Regions from separate parts of the Homo sapiens genome. Here region 1 is linked to region 2. The links are contacts of gene promoters, found by promoter capture Hi-C in blood cells and fetal thymus (Javierre and others, 2016). All regions are on one chromosome and are shown on one strand. Each heading gives the region's core, a stretch centred on a gene start or on the middle of the fragment in contact. The rest is flanking DNA. Distances are from core to core; before and after follow the strand shown.

Evidence for each region. Contacts are between HindIII fragments. The CHiCAGO score rates a contact against its expected background, and 5 or more counts as called.
Region 1: a fragment that was not itself captured here is called in contact with the fragment with the promoter of CDCA7 in region 2 in 1 of 17 cell types (fetal thymus); the score reaches 6.7 in fetal thymus.

The regions. Positions count from the first base shown.
Region 1 is chr2:172,969,973-172,972,672 of GRCh38, reverse strand. The region is part of intron 10 of RAPGEF4 (Rap guanine nucleotide exchange factor 4); the gene reads right to left. Among named protein-coding and RNA genes, the nearest start is that of MAP3K20, 100 kb to the left of the region's middle. The HindIII fragment of the contact is 818 bases long and covers 851-1,668 here.
Region 2 is chr2:173,353,276-173,356,204 of GRCh38, reverse strand. CDCA7 (cell division cycle associated 7) reads right to left here and starts at 1,333. Exons shown (of 10, transcript NM_031942.5): 1 at 1,221-1,333. The coding sequence starts at 1,241. RefSeq lists a silencer at 1,122-1,391 and enhancers at 1,942-2,031, 1,334-2,289. The HindIII fragment of the contact is 4,998 bases long and covers 1-2,929 here.

The DNA.
Region 1 (2,700 bases), core at 10-2,509, 380 kb after region 2:
GTGGATATGAGGAATAAGAATAAATTGCTTTCATGGGGAGAGGCAGAGAAATGACCTACTTAATGCAATCATTTATTCAGGTAAATTCTACAAGCTTTCACTTGTGACGCCAAAATCTTTCCAGTAAAGACCAAGGTGAAGGTCACCATGCAGTGAAGGAAGGATTCGCCGTGACTGTCTTACTTCAGAAGCCTAGGTTCTTTCGGTCGTGCTTTTCTTCTCATCTGATTAACATTTGAGATGAACTTCGTAACTGTGGACATTCTCTTGACACATCCCAGCAGAAATCAAAACCCTAACCACCACCAATTTTAGGCTTGCTAATCTGGAATCCCCCGAAGAAACAAATCCCTCTATAATTACCAGGATTTTAAATTCCACACCCTGGAAAAGAGTTTAGACAAATAAAGATCCTATTAAAACAGGCACTGCTAATTAAGACACAATACACAGGCTCTCACGCGCCCTCTAGAGCAAGTGTGTGGAATCGAACAGCAGCAGGGTAGTCTCCACCCAGCCTCTGCAGGACAGCCTTGCATTAGGGCAGCCAATTAAGGGATAAACAATACCCTCCCCACCCCCGCCCACAGTATTTTGCCTTTATGTCATTTAATCCATCTTAAATTGTTGCCTTTCAACTTTACGCCCTATAGCATATGTTTGATATGAAGCCAATATATCTCACGTTTCCATATTTCTTAATGCCTTAGCAGAGTATGGGCAATAAGAAAACAAACAAAAAAACCATTTCCAGGACCTTTGAACATGCTCTCAGTTTTCAGGAGCAAGGTGTGTTCAGATGGTCTCTTCAAGACAACAATGATACTGGCAATTCTTGACCAACGAAGCTTGTTTTCTTTCCGTTTAAGTAAAATTAAATAGTAACTCCAAAGATTATTAGCAGATCAAAAAAAAAATGGGGTATGTGTGTACGTGCATGTAGAGTTGGACTGTCTGTCTCCTAAAATTAGATTCCTTACTTTTCACTTTCCCATCTCTCAGAGCTCTTATTCCAGCAGAAAGAGTCAAAAGAAGAAACTGCCAGCCCAATTCCAATGTTTAAAAAGTTTCAAAAAACCTAGGGAGATGGGAAAAATCCCAAGGGCAACTGAAATATTAATTTATCACATAAAATAAACGAACTCAAGTTTGTGTGTTTCTGACCCAGTTGGAAGATTCCCCAACTTCTAACAATTCTCTTATATATACATATATTTCTCTCTGCTCGGGCCCAAATGACTTTTCTCTTTCTCAACTTACTTAGGCTTCTACTGTTAGGCATTTTCAGAACTGCAGACCTAAATTTTGATTTGGGAAACAGTGTCTACTTAACTGTCCTCCCAACTTTAGGCTGGTCTCTGATAGACCATCCTGAACATTGGAACCTATGTCTCACTTTACTTGGAAGGAGTGGTTGGAAGGCTTGTACAGCAGAGCGTCCTGTCTCCTTGAAGCCTCTTTTTTATCCACAGTTGGCCTCAAGTTTACAATACTCTGTTTACCTAGTCACTCCAGATCCTTTTACTCATATTTCTCTAACCAAAGTACCTGCTCAAAGAAAGCCAAAATGCACATTTCTACTGGTAAGAGTACCCATTATATCTACTTGCTATAGGGCAACCTCTTGTTTTTAGATTTATAAACAAAGCAAAATCAAAACAATAAGCTTGGAGAGCTCATTCAGTGTTTGATGGCCCTGTCTCAGAGCTACAACAACAGCACCGTCAAACTGTCATCGTTCTGTAGCACTTGCCCCCAAATGCCATCCAGGTCTGCACCTGCGAAACCAGGACGGGCATTGTGAGTCACTCTGTCTGCCACCACATAAAAAGCTAATTTCACATGCAGAATGTATGTGTTTTTTTTCAATACCAATAGCAACAAGAGTGTGCCAAAAAATTTCCCCTGAAGCTCTATTCTGTTTTTTAAACTACAGAACATTCTTTCATAGTTTGACAGTTAAAATGCTGCAGTTAATGTAATAAACAGAGAATTTTTCTAAGTAGCCTGTCAAAACAAGTGACACTTTTTTTTTTTGCTAGCAAGTCTCAGATTCAGAACAATAGGAAGTACCTTTCAAAGCAACATCTTCATTATACAATCAAATTCTCAAAGTAATCTTCTCATCAAAGAATATTGTGTTATTTCTTTCCCAGTAATTATCAGAGTTCTGCAACCTCTCTGGCAGTGGTGACTATTATAAAATGCAGCCGTGCTGAGTTTAAAAGTTGGGGGTCCTGCCCTGGTCAGTATGAAGCCAATGCATCTCATGCCTCCACATTTCTTAATGACTTAGCACTTTCGGCAGTAGAAAGTCAACATTTCCAGGACCTCTGAACATGCCCTCAGTTTCCAGGAGTGAAGTGCTTGGTTGGTCCCTTCAAGGACAGTAGTGATACTGGCAATTCTTGATCAACTAAGCTTGTTTTCTTTCCACTTAAATAAAGTAGTAGCTCCAAAGATTATTAGCAGATCAAAAAAAAAAAAAAAGGGTGTGTGTGTGTATGTACATGTAGAGTTGGAATATCTGTCTCCCAAAATTAGATTCCTTATTTTTCACTTTCCCATCTCTCGGGAGCTGTTATTTCAGCAGAAAGAAAACTGAAGAGTTCCAGAAGTGCCAGCCCAATTCCAACGTTTGCAAAGTTTCGAAAAACCTAAGAAGATGGGAAAATCCCAAGGCCACCTGAAATCATGTAT
Region 2 (2,929 bases), core at 84-2,583:
AGGCAAATAGTCAAGACGGAGATGAACTTCTTTGGCAGGTAAGTAATAACTAATACCATTTATAGTAGGCGTTTTTCGTGCCAGGCACTATGTTAAGTACACTTTCACGTCAGGTTTAATTCTTTGCAACAAAGGTGCTATCGTTATTCTCACTTAGCCAATGAGGAAACTGAGGCTCAGGAAAGCGAAATGGATTACTCAAGTCCCATGGTGGCTCAGATTTGAACTCAGGCATGTCAGGTTCCAAGACCAGCTACACATGGTTTTCTTCATCCGGAAAGCCAATGCCCAGCTCCACCGGGGCGGCGACTCAGCTCTGAAACCACGCCCCATCGCACCCACCCCCGCGAGGGTCCCTAACCCCTGATATTTATTTTAAACATGTCATTGTCTTCCGTTTCACCCAACCCCCACTCTTCTACCCTCTCCAGGAGCCCGACCCTACGTTCTGGCTTCCGTTAGAGCAAAAAGTAACGTTCCACTCAGAGCAACGTCCTGCAGCTAAGAGTAAGGCTGGGGGGTGGGGGGTGGGGGGTTGGGGGTTGGGGTGGAGGAAGTAGGAAACGAGCAAATGGTCGGCGAACGCTTTGACCCACCAAGCCCTTTAAATGCACTTAACCACCGCCCGGGACTACGGTCGCTTCACACTGCGTGCGCAGCCCAAGTTCTAGGAGACCGGTTCGCAAGACCTTAAACCTCAGACGCGCTGGCCCTCAGCGGTTAGAAGCGGACGCGTCTCTTGCCGGGCGGGGTGCGCGCCCAAGGGCCACCCACTGAGCGCGGGTATAGACGCGGCGAGCCACGCACTGGCTCCGAGTTGTGTGCGGGAAAGGGCTGGGCCGCTGCGGGACAACCTCCCAGGGGGCAGGCAGGCTGGCTCTGCCTGGCAGGCAAAATCGGGACCGGCCAGCGCTCCCGGCCGCTGTCCGGCCTTTGGCGGACGCACGTGCCTAGGGCTTTCCAGCGCTGCTAGCCATCCTGCAAACGACTCAAGTCTCCACGCCGCCCGCACTTCGGGTGCGCACGCCACGCAGGAACGTCCCCATGGCCCTCAGTTATCCCAGGTGCACAAAATCAGGGGCTTGCCCAAGCGGGCAACGCCTAGGCAGGCCACCAGTTAAGGCAGCGCTAGGCTGCGGAGTTGGAGAGGGTCGGCCCGCGCCCGCCTGCGTCCAGCACCCACCGCGCCCGCCCCTCGGGTTCGCCCGCCCAGCCCTCACCGGCACGCGGCGAGCGTCCATGCTGGTGGCGGGTGCCCAGATCGGCGCTTGGAGCGGGGAGAGCGGAGCAGCCGCGCGGTCAGCGGTCCCACAGCAGGAGGAGCAGCAGCAGCGCGGCTGGCAGGCTGGGCGCGCCGACCCGGGCCCGGAGGGGCGGGGCTCGGGCTGTCTTTCCCGCGTTGGGACACAGGTCCTGCAAGCTGTGGTAACGGCCAGACATGGCGCAAGACTAGGTGGCCCCCTGGAAAAAACACGACCCCCCTATATATTCTGACCTCAAAGGATAGCCTTGGGCACTCCTAAAATCCCCTTTGAGAAAGGGGGGCTTTAGGGGCTACGGGGACCACTCTCCTTGTGCAGCTGCGCGGTCCTGAGCGAGTGGCGCGAAAATGGTTCGTATTGCCCCGGGGTTAGCTGTCTGATTTGCAAGAATTTTCGTGGTGGCGGAGGAAAAGTGGAGTCTGGGGGGTAAAGGAGAGCAGCGTGAGGGTGGCGCGGGTCACGCACCATGGCGTTTAGCACTTTCATTGCTGCGTGCGGTTTACAAGATTTAAAAAATCATAGAATCCAGCACGAACTCCACCCTTCATAATCGAGTTCACCGCCCCTGGATGTAGCACCTCTTATCTGGGAACCACACCATTATCTGAAGCAATAAAATGAGTTAAATCCTGATCTTTCTTTCCAAAAAGCACAGGAAGCCGACTTGTTTACTTGTGGTTTTCAAAGTAGAAGAAAAGCCGCAGCAGCTTGATGAAGACGTCTATAGTATAGTTAACCTTTAACGATTATCTGTTGGGGATTGAAACTAAAGATTGAACAATTGTGGCTTGATGATCTTCTCTGTCTTCAGAATTGAGAACTACCCTGAGTCAGTGCGAACGAGAAAACTTTTCATTGCCCTTTTAACCAAACTTGGCATTACAACGAAAAAATGAAATAAAGCGAGGCTTTTTGTGTGCGTGAAGAGCAAAACTTGCTTCTACAAGAAAAAGTAAATTTAGTTTCTTTAGAAGACACTAATTATACTCTTAACATTTAAAACAAGCGCTTGAAATGAAAACATTCGCATTTCCCCCTCATTTCAAAACTTTTCTCTGGGGAATAATTAATTCCTTTGCAGTAAGAGAGTGCATGGACATACTGTGTTCCTCTCTTGGTGTACTGAATACAAAAACTGTGAGCAAGTAAATAATGCCCGAGGACAATGGATTGGAAGGAGTCTTCCAGCCTTTCTTAAATATACCTACCCAGTAATCACTCTGCCACTGTGCAAGGGACAAAGAGCTCAAGGTCTAGAAGGTGAGTGCCAGGAGGAGAGGCTATCGGTGGGTGGTGAAATTACGGAATTACAGGGCCCTCAGTAAGTATTTGTTGAATGAATAAACATTTGGGAATATAATTTTGTGCCACTAAAGCTAAATATATGAAAATTTGGAATTACTAGATCCATGAAGCAGGGGAAGATTAAGTCACTTTGCCTGTGAAAGGTTCTGATAGGGAAATTTTTAGTCTTCCTGGGAGCACAAGAAAATAATTTGGTGTATGTGTTTTTTAAGGATAAGATCTCTGGTCTATTCGTCTTTTTAGTAATCAGGAAAATGCAAATTAAAACAAGTGTCACTGGAAAGGGGTCCCGATCTAGACCCCAAGAGAGGGTTCTTGGATCTTGCACAAGAAAGAATTCAGGGCAAGTCCGTAAAGTGAAA